Regions from separate parts of the Homo sapiens genome. Here region 2 is linked to region 1. The links are contacts of gene promoters, found by promoter capture Hi-C in human tissues and cell types (Jung and others, 2019). All regions are on one chromosome and are shown on one strand. The core of a region is centred on a gene start or on the middle of the fragment in contact, and the rest is flanking DNA. Distances in the headings are between cores, read along the strand shown.

Region 1 (7,091 bases), core at 1,738-4,237:
CCTCAAATGATCCACCTGCCTCAGCCTCCCAAAGTGCTGGGATTACAGGCGTGAGCCACTGTGCCCAGCCTCATGTGGCTCTTTTAGCTCTGCTTCCATCAGTCTCCAGGGACACTTCCCACCACCGAGGCTTACCAGGTAGTGGCAAAAGCTGCTTGAATTCCAGGCTAATGCCACTTATGCCTGAGGCAGTGTCAGTGGAAAGAATTTGACCATCTGCCAGTGGAGATAAGATCTGTGAGGTTGGGGAGATTTAAATAAGCAGAGCACCTGGGTCGAAGGTGCTCCATGAGGCCTGGTTCCTTCTCCACCTCCCCTCATAGGCAGATGGTTCAGGAAAGCCTGAAGTTCTCTTCATCCTCTAGGGAGTGTAGTAACAACTGCTGTACCTATAGGCTTGTCTGCTTCACGCCTCCCTGGCCAGTGATCCCCCTCACTTAAGAATTTCAAGGAGACGGCAGGATACTCAAGTCAACCCCACGGCAGGATACTCAAGTCAACCCCGAGGTCCTCAGGTCCAGGCCAACTGGCCTGGCTCTTAGAGGTGATGTTCCCCCACCAGGGCCTCCACTGGAGAGGTGAGGCTGGGGAGCTGACTGTGCTGTGAAGACATGAGCAAGCCGCCAGCAGAACTGGCATCACCTACAAAAGCACACAAGTGACACCCGTGGTCCCCTGCAATCCTCTTTCATGTTGTCAGACACCAGACGTGGCTCTCTACCAGTCCCAGCTGCTCAGAACCAGAGCTTCGCCTGCCCTGAGGGAGAGATGTAGGAGGCAGACAAGCCCGAGGTGCTGGGGTCTCTGGCCATTACACGTGGCCAGGCCAGTTAAAACTTTATAACCTGCCTCCTGCCAGCTGGAGGTTCCTGCAGTTGGGCCACAGACCTGGCGCCAGGGAGGGGACGAATCTCAAGGCCCCTTTCACTGAAGGCAGGAGCTGTCTGTGCTGGGCCTTCCCTCCCTTCCCCATCCAGCGCCACACACGGAGGCTCAGGAGGTCGTGTGTCCCAGCCCCACTTTATTTTCGAATTTAAAACTCAGGGTCAATTCCTGGGGTTCCCAGGCAACCCTCCCTCGAGCCCACTCACTAGGGGCCAGCCCTAGATCTTGAAGGCCAAGGTGAGTCCATCGCCCAGGGGCAGGAGGCTGATGTAGACCCTGACGTCCCGCCGGATGCGTTCGTTTAGGTTTCGCACACACTCGGCCGCCACGTCCCCTTTCGGAGGTTGCAGCACCTTCCCGCGCCACAGGACCTGCGGGAGGGCGGGGCCAACCGGGCCGTGGGAGGCGGGGCTTCGGAGGGAGGTGCTCGGGCGGAAGGCGGGGGACTGGGAGGGAGGTGCCCGGGCGGGAGGCGGGGTCTTGGAGGGAGGTGCCCAGACGGAAGGCGGGGTCTCGGAGGGAGGTGTCTGGGCGGGAGGCGGGGCCTCGGAGGGAGGTGCCCGGGCAGGAGGTGACCAGAGCTGGAGACAGAACCAAAGCGGAGGAAAGCCTGGGTACCGGGGCCGGAGCCCCGGAGGGGGTGTAGCCTACGTGACTGGACTGGGTGGGGCTTTGGGGTATAAGAGGAGTCAAGGGAAAAGATGGGGACCCGGCCCGACAGGGTGCTTTCTCCTCCCCCGCAGTGGATCCCTTACTCTGAGGACGGCGAGGATGCCTCCGGGTCGCAGCAGCTGCAGGCAGCGCTCGTAGTAGGCGGAGCAGTTCTCCTTGTCCGCATCCACCACGGCCACGTCGAAGGTGCCGGCCTCGCCCGCCGCCAGCAGCTCGTCTTGCGGGGGGAGGGAGGGCAGGTGCGGCTGAGTCCGCGGCCCCGGCGGCCCTGAGGCCCCTCCCAGGCCGGCCCGGGCTCTGTGACAACCGGCCCTGCCCTTAACCTGCCCGGCAGGCCCAGTCACAGCTCGGCCACACAGCAGCCTCGTTTGCAATGAATGGCTTCAAAGCCCTTCCCGCTTCGGTGCTCACCCAGGGTCTCCAAGGCGGGCTTCAGCCGGAGGTCGATCTTGTGCTCCGCCTCGGCCTGCGGAGGGAGCGGGTCAGCCGTTGCGCCCCCGCCTGGGGCTGCAGAGCTAGGCGCGGGCGCTCACCTGCCTCCACAGGGGCCGTCCCAGCTCCGGGGGCTGCGCGTCCACCTCGCAGGTCACCACGCGCCCGTCCGCGGGCAGCGCCAGGGCCAGGGCCAGGGCGGAGTAGCCCGTGAAGGTGCCTGGGACCAGGACACAGACGGGCTCAGCCCAGAGTGGGGGTCGGCCCGGAAACCTCGGCCCTCCGGGATCCCGGCCGCGTGCCCCTACCCAGGTCCAGCGCCTTCTTGGCCTGGATGAGCCGCGCCAGGTTGGCCAAGAGCTGGGCCTGCTCGCAGGTCATCATAGAATCCCCCTGCGGCTGCTCCAGGGTCAGCTGCGTGAAAGGAGAGGGTGGCACCAGCCATGCAGGTCACCCACCTTCGCCCTGGGGGTCCCAAGCCCCAGGGGCGCGGTTCTGGGCGTGGCCTGGGGGACTGGCCCTTCGGAACGCCCACCGCACCCGGCCCAGGGAAGCCGGAAGCCCAGGGAGGGCCAGGGCCCAGCCCAAGGTCACACAGCCACGTGGGACCCGCAGGGGTCGAGAGGGACGCCCGTTTCCGTCCCGCGCCCTGCTGACCAGCCTCAGGCTTCGCAGCGCCGGGTGCTCCCGCATGGAGCGGCTCAGAAGATACTGCCACAGGCGGCTGTCCTCGGGGGGAAGCAGGCACTGCTCTCGCCGGCCTCGCCATGGGGGGCACCGCCTCCCTGACGGGGAGAGGGTGTTGGATTAACCTGAGCCACGCCGCGCCCTACTCTGCGCCCGCCCACCCGCCCGCCGGGACCAGGTCCTGCTCACCCAGGAAGAGGCCAGTGGCGAAGGCGGCGCCCAGTGCGGCTGAGCCCAGGGCCAGCGCGGCGGGCACGGAGAGCCGGGGCACCGGCTGGGTCATGGCGCGGGCAGGAGGCGGCGGGAGGCAGTGACAGGTCACGTGAGCTGGAGCTCCTGGGACAGGTCTCGGACTCGCGGGCCCGCCGGGCTCCACCTTGTCGGGGCACTACCCGCGGAGCCGCGGTCTCGGGCATCATCTGGCGGCCACACAGCCTTACTGCAAGCCCCGCCCGAGAGAGCCGGGCGCGATCTGGTGGCCGCGCCGGGAACTGCGCCCCTGCGGGGAGCAGGCCAAGCGCCTAGATCTGAATTTTCCCGCCTGTGCCCGCAGTCCAGGTGCCTGCCTCCATTCCCCTCCTGCCAATGCTTTTTTCTCCTCGCCACCATTTATTCTGAGGCCCCTTGGGGGCATATGTGAATTGTGTATGGAGGGCGCCAGTGTAAGTTACAAGATAGTCACAAGTACAAGAGATAGAGATTAAAGGGGGAAGGCCTCCTGGACAAGATGCCCCAAAGCATCAGGCTGAAGGAGTGAGGGAACTGGTTTGAGGGCATGCAGCCTCGAATTGGGGTTCAGGAGCCCTGGGGTGGGCCTGTGGAACTGAGACCATATTCTTAGCTGTTAAAATCCTGCTTTTGGGGGCCAGATGGATACGAGTGTCTAATCTTGGTCCTGCCAGTCTCTCTGAGCCTCAGTTTCCTTCCTGTAAAATGAGGCCTACAATCTTACCATAAAAGGCACCAGATCCCACAGCTTCGCACACAGTAGCACAATACATAAGTGGCAGCTGCTGTTATGTTGGTAGGTTGGAATGAAGACATCTTGGGGAGAAAGCCGGTGAAGCTCCCTTGCAAGGTTGTTCTGTTGAAACACTGTCCAGAGAACACTGATTGAACCCCTACCATGCGCCAAACTCCGGAGGAGGTGAAAGACGCTGACGCTGTCCTTTTTTTTTTTTTTTTTGAGACTGAGTCTCGCTCTGTCACCCAGGCTGGAGTGCAGTGGCACAATCTGGTCTCACTGCAACCTCCACCTCCTGATTCAAGCGATTCTCCTGCCTCAGACTCTGGAGTAGCTGGGACTACAGGCACGCACCCCTACACCCAACTAATTTTTGTATTTTTTGTAGAGACGGGTTTTGCTATTTTGGCCAGGCTGGTGTCAGACTCCTGGCCTCAAGTGATCTGTTTGCCTCGTCCTTCCAAAGTGCTGGGATTACAGGCCTGAGCCATTGTGCCTGGCGTTGGTGTTCTTTTTTTTTTTTTTGGCAAGGTCTCTGGCAAGGCTGAAGTGCAGTGGCAAGATTACTGCTTATTGCAGCATCGAGCTCCCAGGCTCAGCAATCCTCTTGCCTCAGCCTCCCAAGTAGCTGGGACCACAGGCGGTCACCACTGTGCCCAGCTAATTTAAAAAAAAAAATTTTTTTTTTAAAGAGAAGGGGTCTTACTATGTTGTCCAGGCTGGTCTCGAACTCCTGGCTTTAAGTGATCCTCCTGCCTCAGCCTCCCAAAGTGCTGGGATTACAGGTGTGAGCCCCCGTGCCTGGCCTCTGGTTGGTATTCTTAGTGAAGCTGGTTTCAGAGATGCAGGTCACACACAGCTGGCGGGTGGCCTAAGCTTCACGACTTCTGCCTCTGTGAAATGGCGTTATGAATAGTCCCAACCTCCTAGGGGACCAAATGAGAAAATCCAGGCTGAGGACTTACACAGGGGACCAAATGAGAAAATCCTGGCACTTAGTGAGCTGTCATGTTACCTTTAAAAGGAGTCAAAGTCCGAAGGGCAGCCGGTTATCTTCCTGCTGCACTGCAGATGTCCCCTGGGGTGGAGGCTGTAAGAGCCTTTTTTTTTTTTTTTTTTTTTTTTTGAGATGGAGTCTTGCTCTGTCGTCCAGGCTGGAGCCCAGTGGCGCGATCTCAGCTCACTGCAACCTCCGCCTCCCAGGTTCAAGCGATTCTCCTGCCTCAGCCTCCTGAGTAGCTGGGACTACAAGCGCCAGCCACCATGCCTGGCTAATTTTTGTACTTTTAGTAGAGACGGGGTTTCACCATATTGGCCAGGCTGTTCTCGAACTCCTGACCATGTGATCCGCCCGCCTCGGCCTCCCAAAGTGCTGGGATTACAGGCGTGAGCCACCGCACCCGGCCAAGAATCCATTTTAACAACGCTGACTAGGCATTGAGCTCCACTGGGGGGCTTCCCAGGCGGGGGCTCAACCTGAGCGAGGCCCAGAGGCCAGCTTGTTGAGTAGTTAATGAGAGAGTGGCTTGGCTGAGGATGAAGGCCAGAAACTTGCAGTTTCTTGATCTGAGCTGCAGGAACCTTGGGCCTAGCGGAAGCGAGGAAGGAGGAGGCGGAGCTCTGGGGTGAGGCTACGGGCCGGCCTCTAATCAGAGACAGGGTGGGGCTGGTTCTTTGACCAACCAGCCGGCAGCCCCCGAAGCACATGGCTGTGTGGGGGCAGAACCTGCTGTCTCCGTGCATGCGTGCCCTTTCGGCCCTCCTGGGACTTGCCTCCGGGCTAGCAGCACTGCTCGAGGACAAGCTCCTTGCCCTTTACTCTTTGACCCTCTACGTCCCGCTTGGCCTCTAACTTGACCGTGAATCTCATTCTGCGGGTAAGGACTGAGGCTGCTGGTCTCTCCTTCCCAGGCCTGAGCATACAGCAGGCGCTAAATAAATGCTCTTGACTAGAGTTCTGGCGCTGCCTGGCGCTCCTTGCTGCCAGGAGTAAAAATAGTAACAGCAGGGCCCCTTTATTGAGGACCTGCCGGGCACCAGGCACAATGCATCCAGGATCCGGGGGCGGCTGTGATCTTGTTCCCATTTTCCAGAGCAGGAAAGCTCAGAGACCACCGCCCAGACCCTGCAGCCAACAGAGGAAACGCGCGTACCTCTCCCTTGAACCCTGGGACCCAGAGGGAACAGGCCTTCTTGGCTCCTCTGCTGGGACGAGGGCCCAGCTCGAGCTGGCCTGAGGGCCCTGCGCTCAGGTGGTGCCGCTGACCGCTCTCTCCCTTCAGCCCGGGGGTCCAGGTTGCAGCAGGCCCCCAGCTCACACTGAAACTCCCTCCTACAGCCTGGCTTTAGGCCGGAGCGGTGGAGGTTGAGGGGGAGCGGGTGGGGAGGGGAGGCATGTCACCATCTATCCCCGTCAGATTAAAAAACTAATTTGAAAAGATTAATGTATTCCATTCTTGTTACGCTGGCTCTGATACCTCTGGGCCGGCGGCCGCTCTGCTTCCTGATTATTGAATTTTTATGGCCTGGTAATTAATTGCAGATTCCCTGTTTTGTTCTATTTCTTTTTCTCTGACATTTTAATTTCAACAAAAAGCAGTGGTCTCCATGCAGGTTCTCTCTGGAGATCCTAATGGTCTATAAAACAGAATGACTTATAGACGTGGCACCCACTTCAGTTGGCGAGCGATTGTTTGAAACCTTGCTGATGACGCAGAATTTAATTTTTCCACCCCCTCCCCTTTTTGCTACTCATTTCTTGTCTCTTGCATGGCGGCACCAGTATCTCAGCTCACCAGGAAGGGAGCAAAGTGTCGCCTCCGAATCTGTTCTAGGGCTTTTTCCTAGAAGCCTGGGGGCTGAAGACAGAGTGGGTTTTGATTCTTCTCCAGGCAGTGGGCCTGGTAGAGGGTGGGGGGAGCTGAGCCTCCCCAAAGGGCCTTGTGGATGTGGGCAGCAGCCCCCAGGGGAGGGAATGGGCAGGGGAGGTCATTTCCACCTGTCTCAGGTGCGTTTTGGCCAAATGCCATTGCCCCATTAAGCACCAAGGAACCTGAAGCCTCATCAGGGCAGAGAAAATGGGCATCAGCACCTGCACTTAGGCCCCCACCAGGCAGAGAGGGGGCAGGCTGAGTAGACTGATACAGACAGACGCAGATAGCCTGACAGTCTTAGCTGAACTGGGTCACTGGGAACAGCTCTCCACACAAACAGGTCTGGAACAGACCCCTGAGTTTCCATCCTACTGGTCCCACTCCTATTTCTCATAGCCCTGCTAGCATCACACAGGCTGGGCGCTGTCGCCCGAGATCCCCCGGGACTGAGCAGGGCAGGAGGCAGAAGGTAAGGTCGTAGAATCAATCCTAAGGGATTGGAGTTCAGATGTTTTTTGGGGCCAGGCAGGTGAAGTAAGCAGGGCAAGGTGATAGGGGGTGGTGGGTACTGGAGCACT
Region 2 (6,973 bases), core at 1,056-3,555, 180 kb after region 1:
ACGGGCCTCAGGAGGGAGGGGCGGGCCCGGCGGCACTTCCGTTGGGGGTGGGGCTGCGGGCTGCCGCGCCGGTCCCGCCCCTCCGCCGCGCGGGCCCGCCCGCTCCAGGCCAGGCTCCGCCCCCACCGACTCGGAGCTGGATCTCAGGCCACGGCGCCCCCCCAGTCGCGCCCCCAACCCCGGAGGCCTCGGGCTGAACCGGGTTTCGCAGGAGGGCACAGGGCGGCTCCCTTTTCCTCACCTGGGGGTACTCTCTTTTTAAGTCATAGGAACAGAAGCATCTGCAGACTAGGATCCCAGGCCCAAACTTGCACGTGAGATTTGTTGAAACTTAGGTCATTTGGTACTCCTGACACCTGCCTGGCCCAGGGGTCCTCACGCTCTCTCTGCGGATGTGATCAGCCGTCCTCTTGGACAGTGGGGAATATAGTCCGTGCTCATAGGGTCCCACCTATCTTTCAGGAAGAACAAAAGCAAAAACTAACACTTTTTGATTGTTCATTTTGTGCCAGGTGCCATTTAAAAATTTTGTATGAATTATGTCCTCGCCCACAGCGACTCTCTGAGGTAGGTACCATGAATGCCCCATTTCATAGATAAAGAAATTGAGGCACAGAGAGAAGAAATCTGCCTTGCCTCACCCGCATCCCATCCTCATCCCTTCTTTCCTTCAGATCTGGGGCATGCCAACTCCTTACTCTGGGGGAGTATTGGAGGGAGAATTCTACTTTTCTGATGGGGGAGTACCAGCCTGTTAACCACAACCATTTGCAGCTGAAGCCAGTGCAGAGCAGGAGGGAGATCTGCACAGAGGAGAACAGTATAAATGGCATGGGGTCATCTCAGCCCCTGGCCAGCTCCCAGCCTAATGGGAAAACCGGACCATTGAGCATTCCTTGCTGTTTCCCTGTAGTCCCAGCCCAAGCCAGCATGCTCTTTTTTTAAAAAGCAAATCCAACCATGTTTCTCTTCTGCTTAAAGGCATCCGGGTTCCCATTGTTCTTGAGAACAAGTTGAGCTTGCCTCCCCTGGCTGGCGGGTCTACACTGGCTCTGCCCCAGCTTGCCTTTCTGCCTTTGTCTGCCTCCACACCCCCTCACCTGGAACTCCTGCTACCCAAGGCTTCCTTTTAGTTCCTCAAATGTGCCATGCTACTCCCCACCTCAAGGGCTTTGCTCCTGCTTTTCTCTGTCTCTCTGGAATGACCTGTCCTTCTCTTCACCTGGCTTGCGCATACTCTTCCTTCAGGTCTCAGCTCACACATCACTTTCCTGCATCCTCCCGCCTCCCATTACCCTCACTTATAATAGAATTTCCTGTTGAGAGTCTGTCCGCTTCACTGGATGGTAAACTCCCAGGGGGTAGGGACTAGGGCCGTTCCTTCAAGGAACAAATGAAGAAGGAACATTTGTATAAACCACCAACTATGATGAACGAATGAAACTGCCCTTTTTGGGGCCACCAGTAAGTATTCTCCATGGTCTCACATTCCAAGATGTTCTCAACTTAATGAGGGCGATGATACAAATCTCATGAAAACATATGTTATTTTGAATGCCTTTATTGTAAATGTCAAATAAGGGGATGCTGGAGGAGGTTGGAGAAGAGGAATATGCATGGATTACAGCCATTTATTCAGGGTTTCAAGATGCAAGATGTGTTGGTTGACACAATTTAATGGAAAACCATGCCACCCACGACCATCTCCCAGTGTTGGGCATGTATGTCTCAAGGCTCTAGCCTGCACCCCCTTTCCTCTTCCTTTCTTCACATATTATTGCTATCACAGTTCAGTTCTTACTAGTTTCTGACTTAACTGCTGCTACAAGAACCTTCTAATTGTTCTGCCCATCCTCCACCTCTCCTGCCTCTAATCCATCATACATACTCCTGCTGGGTTAATTTTCCTGACCACATCATTCCCTTACTCAAAACTCTTCAGTGGCTCCCTATGATACAGTGTAACACTTGACTCTTCATAGCCCACTTCCAAACTACTTTTGTAAAGCTTTAAGATGCATTCCAAAATTATGAAAGAAACACATGTTCACCTCAACCAGGAAAACACTCAAAGATATACAAAGAAAAACATCAGTGATCTTCCTCACCTCCTCTGCATTTCCCACCCAGTCTCCCAAGACATCCATTGTTAAGGACCTGGGGTATAACTTCTACCTCTTTCACCATGCTCCATGCTCATAATAAACTATATTCATATATGTGGAGCTATTGTGTTATTGCCTATTTATACAAAAAGGATTATATTAGGGGTCTCTGCAACTCGCTCATTCATTCTTAATAATAAATGGGTCTATAGATATGGAATGAATATATTCATTTTTTAGCTACATAGTAATTTTAATTTATTTTTATTTTTTTTTAATGTATGTATATATGTATGTATTTTAGACAGGGTCTCACTTTGTTGCCCAGGCTGGAGTGCAGTGGCACAAACATGGCTCACTGCAGCCTTGACCTTCCAGACTCAAGCGATCCTCCCGCCTCAGCCCCTCAAGTAGATGGGACTACAGGTACACACCACCACGCCTGGCTAATTTTTGTATTTTTCGTAGAGATGGGGTTTTTCCATGTTGCCCCAGCTGGTTTTGAACTCCTGAGCTCAAGGGATCCACCTGCCTTAGCCTCCCAAACTGTTGGGATTACAGGTCACCATGCTGGCCAGCTACATAATGTTTCATAAGATGTATATACTGCACCTATTCAACCATTCCCCTATTAGTGGGCACATAGATTGTTACCAGGTTTTTTTTGCTAATAAAATTTCTTATGTCTATATCCTTGCAATTAGTGATTTTACTTCTCTAGGATAGTTTACCAAAAGTGCAGCTACTTACACGTCAGCCAAATTGAATTTCTTTGTTCTCCCCACATGCCCTGTGTTTTCCTTCTGTCTCCTCTCCTTGGAAAGCCCTTGTCTTCCACGCTTGTGTGTCTAACTTCCAATCCTGCAATGGTCAAATCTGATACCAGAATTTAGATATATTATCTGATATCCACCTCCCTCCACCTTCCTCATTTGAAAACTGTAGTAGTGTACCAGGCCCAGGCAGTGGTTTGCGATTGGCATAGGCCAATCATGACAATCTTGTTTTCATCTTTCCCTTGCATCCCTGTAGCTGGGTGGCCATGCAACCTATTTTGGCAAATGAGGAACAAGTGGAAGTACAGGGGTGGCAAAGCAGTAAGCGAGTGTTGAGAAGCACTCTATTTTCATGATCAAAGGGGATGATGCCTATGGTTAGACCCTTCCCTTTCCCCTCCTTCCTTGCATGAGCTTGGACATAATATCTACAGCTGTAGTAGCCATCTTGTGACTATGAGGGAAAGTCCTAGAAAACAGAAGAAAGAAACTTAATCCTGATGTCATTGGGACACTGAGCCATCACCAACAATCCTCCTTCTCCAAAACTTTTATTTTGTTAGAAAAATCCCTATTCGTTTAAGCCAGTGAAATTGGGGATTTTTATAATTACAGACAGACATATTCTTCACCTTCTTTAACAAGAAATACCACCCTCCGTCTCAAAAAACAAAAACAACAACAACAACAACAAAAAAACGAAATGCCATCACAGTGGTCCAAAACAGTTTTTAGAAACTTATATTAGAGACTTGCCTTCAAGTATAGTTTTTGAAATAGCCTCAGAAGCAGGCAAACATTTTTATGGCATGGCTTTGGTATTTTAGAATGGCCAAAAGACACCTGGAGGCAAGTGTGGTAATACCTTTAACCTTCAGTGCTACAAGTAAAGTATTGCATGGTGGACATTTAATTTCTTCCTACTCATTTGGTTGCCTAACATCTGAATCCTCTTCCTTGTTGGAAAGCAGGGCCTGCGTCTGATTACTGAAGTGGGAGAGGCCACATCCTCCCTCTCTCTGCCCTCTAACCAATGGATGCTCCCTACCTGGGTCTCAGACTCAAGGGGTGAGCAGAGGATTGTGGTAGTTTGGAAACTCTTCTCAGTAGCAGCAGTGAGCCCAGTGCAATAGCATTGACTAGGAAGGGCAGAGAGGACAGTCACTGCCATGTGCACTGTGATCATGGCAGCCACTCAGGCAGTGGCCTAACTCGGCTGGTATGGTAGCATGGCCAGCCGCATTTCCATTTCCCAGCTGCTGACAGTTCCTGTCCATTTCCCAAGTCTAGGTCTCCAGTCTTCCCACTGATTCTGTGAACTTCCTGATATCCTTCTGATACATTCCTTTTCTGCTTAAGTTAATCAAAGCTAGTTCTGGTCACTCACAACCAACAACGTCAACTGATTTGCCATAGCCTGGCTGTTCAGGTGGCTTCTAAACAGGTCCAATGGTGATTACTTCTTAGTTGTGTCTGTGGGTTCCTATGATGGGTACTTGTGTGGGACTCCAGCACCAAACAGCCTGGCTGAATACCAACCTAGCCAGGTAACGACTTCAGCTGAAAAACTGATCAATGCAGTAAAGAGAAGCAGTCAGGTCAGCATTGAGTGAGAGAATCACACTTGGTTTTACTGAGTGCCTACTGTGTCCTGGACACAATTCTAGGTAGCTTACAACATTATCTTACCTCTTACCAAAGCCCGGTGAGAAAATGATTTTTATCTCCATCTGGTTTGAGAATGTACAGAATTTTTTCCCTTCTAGCCCTTCCCTCCCACAAGCCTGGATGACACCCAATATGTCTGATGAAGGTGTCTAAGGCATCAAAGGACACTGTCAAGATCGACCGCCTTAGGAAACAATCAACTCTGCTTCTTCTTAGCAGAGCTTAAGAGCTTAAGAAACTGGTACCTTGGGGTGCTCAAAAATGTTTGTGGAATGCAATCAATGGCACAGAAACATCTCCAGGGGACATTTCCTTGGGAAAGTCATGGCCTGAAGCATTTGAGGTCTTGTGTGAGTATTGGGGGAGTACCAGGGAAGAGGTAGGTTTTCCCTACTCACTGCACTGCACTTTCCCAAACCTTGACCTTGGCCAATATGCTTCATGTCTCTGGGCTTAGTGTTTATTCTTCTTTTCTCTTCTTTTTCTGTCTCTATCCCTACTTTTTCCCTTCATTTCCCCTCACCTTTTCTGTTAATCAAGGCATTAATAAGGACACAAATGATGTCATCTTACTTTTATTGCCTACATAGTCTACCATATGCATCAACTACATTCAGTAAATATAGGTTAGGCCAGGTGTGGTGGCTCATAGCTGTTATCTCAGCACTTTGGGAGGCTGAGGTGGGAGAATTGCTTGAGGTCAGGAGTTTGAGACCAGCTTGAGCAACATAGTGCGACCCTATCTCTACAAAAAATGAAAAAAATTAGCTGGGAGCGGTGATGCACACCTGTAGTCCCAGCTACTCAGGAGGCTGAGGTGGGAGGACAGCTTGAGCCCAGGAGATGGAGGCTGCAGTGACCTGTGACAGCACCACTGTACTCCAGCCTGGGAGAGCAAGACCCTGTCTCAAAAAAAATTAATATATAGGTTATATAAATAGATTTTTAAAGATTTGACTTTCTTAGTCCCCACCTTTGTAACTGAACATGCTGCCCCGCAGTGACTCCTACCAGCTCTTTGACCACATTCTCATATTCACAACGTTTTACTTGAACAGCCAAAGGCTTTATCATGTTCTCAGTCTCCCTGCCCTGCTGCTTCAGAAGAAAAGGGCGACCAGCCCCTTCAGCGGGGGTGGAGGTGTGCAGTGAGAAGTGGCAACAGTGGCCCAGGGAGCTGGCTGGTGTTGGGAGGGTGGGTCTGCCAGGCTGTGGCGGGGTGGGGGGGGGCAGGCACCACTGGACCTGCCACCAATGTGGCAGGATTGGGGGGATCTGGTGGGGATCAGCTCTGACCACTAGCATCATCTTTGACCTCTTTCCCCCTTAATCATAATTAGCACCCAGACTGTGTTGACTGATTCTCCCTTTGAAATGGGAGATCCACAAGCATTTATGGAAGGAGCAAATGAGTTACTTCCTGCAGAACCCAGGTGTGAAAGGAGTTAGTAAACATGCCAGAATGAGGCCGGCAGTCACGGGAACCAAATGTAGATTAACCCAAAATGTCACAAAGATAAAAAGTAGGGGAATAAGGGCTTTTTAGGAAGGATGGCATTCCATCTTCCCCGAAATGCTTCTGCCTCAAACTCAGTTCTCCTCAACACCCATCTGAAATCCTCCTACGGTAGCCTCCCCTAGTCCTACCTTCCCAAACACTGCTTTGATTGGATCCCACATTGCTCCAAACCCTCATGGACAATTCATTTTCTGCCAAAAAGCATTTCATGTGCCTTAGCTTCTCTCCTTCAATCCGTTTTTTTTTTTTTTTTTTTTTTGAGATGGAGTGTCACCTACTCTGTCACCCAGGCTGGAGTGTAGTGGCATGATAGCTCATTGCAACCTCTGCCTCCCAGGTTCAAGTGATTCTCCTGCCTCAGCCTCCTGAGTAGCTGGGATTACAGGCGCCCACCACCACGCCTGGCTAATTTTTATTTTTTTGGTAGAGACAGGGTTTCACCATGTTGCCCAGGCTGGTCTTGAACTGCTGGCCTCAAATGATCCACCCACCTCGGCCTCCCAAAATGTTGGGATTACAGGCGTGAGCCACCATGCCTGGCCGCTCTCCTTCAGTCTTACTGTCAAGACTTGCTTTCCACTGTCCCTGAGGACCAGCCATCCAGCCAGCCTGGAATCTTCCCCCTGCACCAACACACCCTTCTTTGTCCCATCTGTACTCATTAGGCTCCCTCCTGTACCATCCAGCTCAGGACACAGCACCGCCCTGCCCCTCCGTCCATCTGATTAGAACATGGTGCTTCAGCATGTGGTGGTCTCTGGGGCATGACTGCTTGGGTCTAAGGAACAGCAGTACCACACTTGCTAGATGTGTGACCTGGGGCAAGCTTCTTCACCTCTCTGAAGTTTCAGTTTCCTCTTCTGCCAAATGGATGTAATAATGATCTCTACTTCATATGGTCGATG

Evidence for each region. The method cuts DNA at HindIII sites, captures the fragments that hold promoters and counts their contacts. A contact is called where the count stands out against the background at its distance.
Region 2: a fragment that was not itself captured here is called in contact with the fragment with the promoter of COMTD1 in region 1 in 1 of the 25 tissues and cell types used here (pancreas).

Annotation. Positions count from the first base shown.
Region 1 is chr10:75,232,970-75,240,060 of GRCh38, forward strand. COMTD1 (catechol-O-methyltransferase domain containing 1) reads right to left here and starts at 2,988. Exons shown (of 7, transcript NM_144589.4): 1 at 2,866-2,988; 2 at 2,647-2,774; 3 at 2,298-2,403; 4 at 2,091-2,209; 5 at 1,969-2,023; 6 at 1,641-1,774; 7 at 672-1,256. The coding sequence starts at 2,959. The coding sequence ends at 1,104. RefSeq lists an enhancer at 937-1,086 and silencers at 1,717-1,946, 2,107-2,396, 2,527-2,606, 2,767-2,906, 2,942-3,236 and 1 more. The HindIII fragment of the contact is 14,083 bases long and covers 1-7,091 here.
Region 2 is chr10:75,409,618-75,416,590 of GRCh38, forward strand. It overlaps LOC101929234 (a long non-coding RNA gene), which reads left to right. Exons shown (of 3, transcript NR_110304.1): 2 at 513-567; 3 at 675-1,707. Among named protein-coding and RNA genes, the nearest start is that of ZNF503, 11 kb to the left of the region's middle. The HindIII fragment of the contact is 4,292 bases long and covers 160-4,451 here.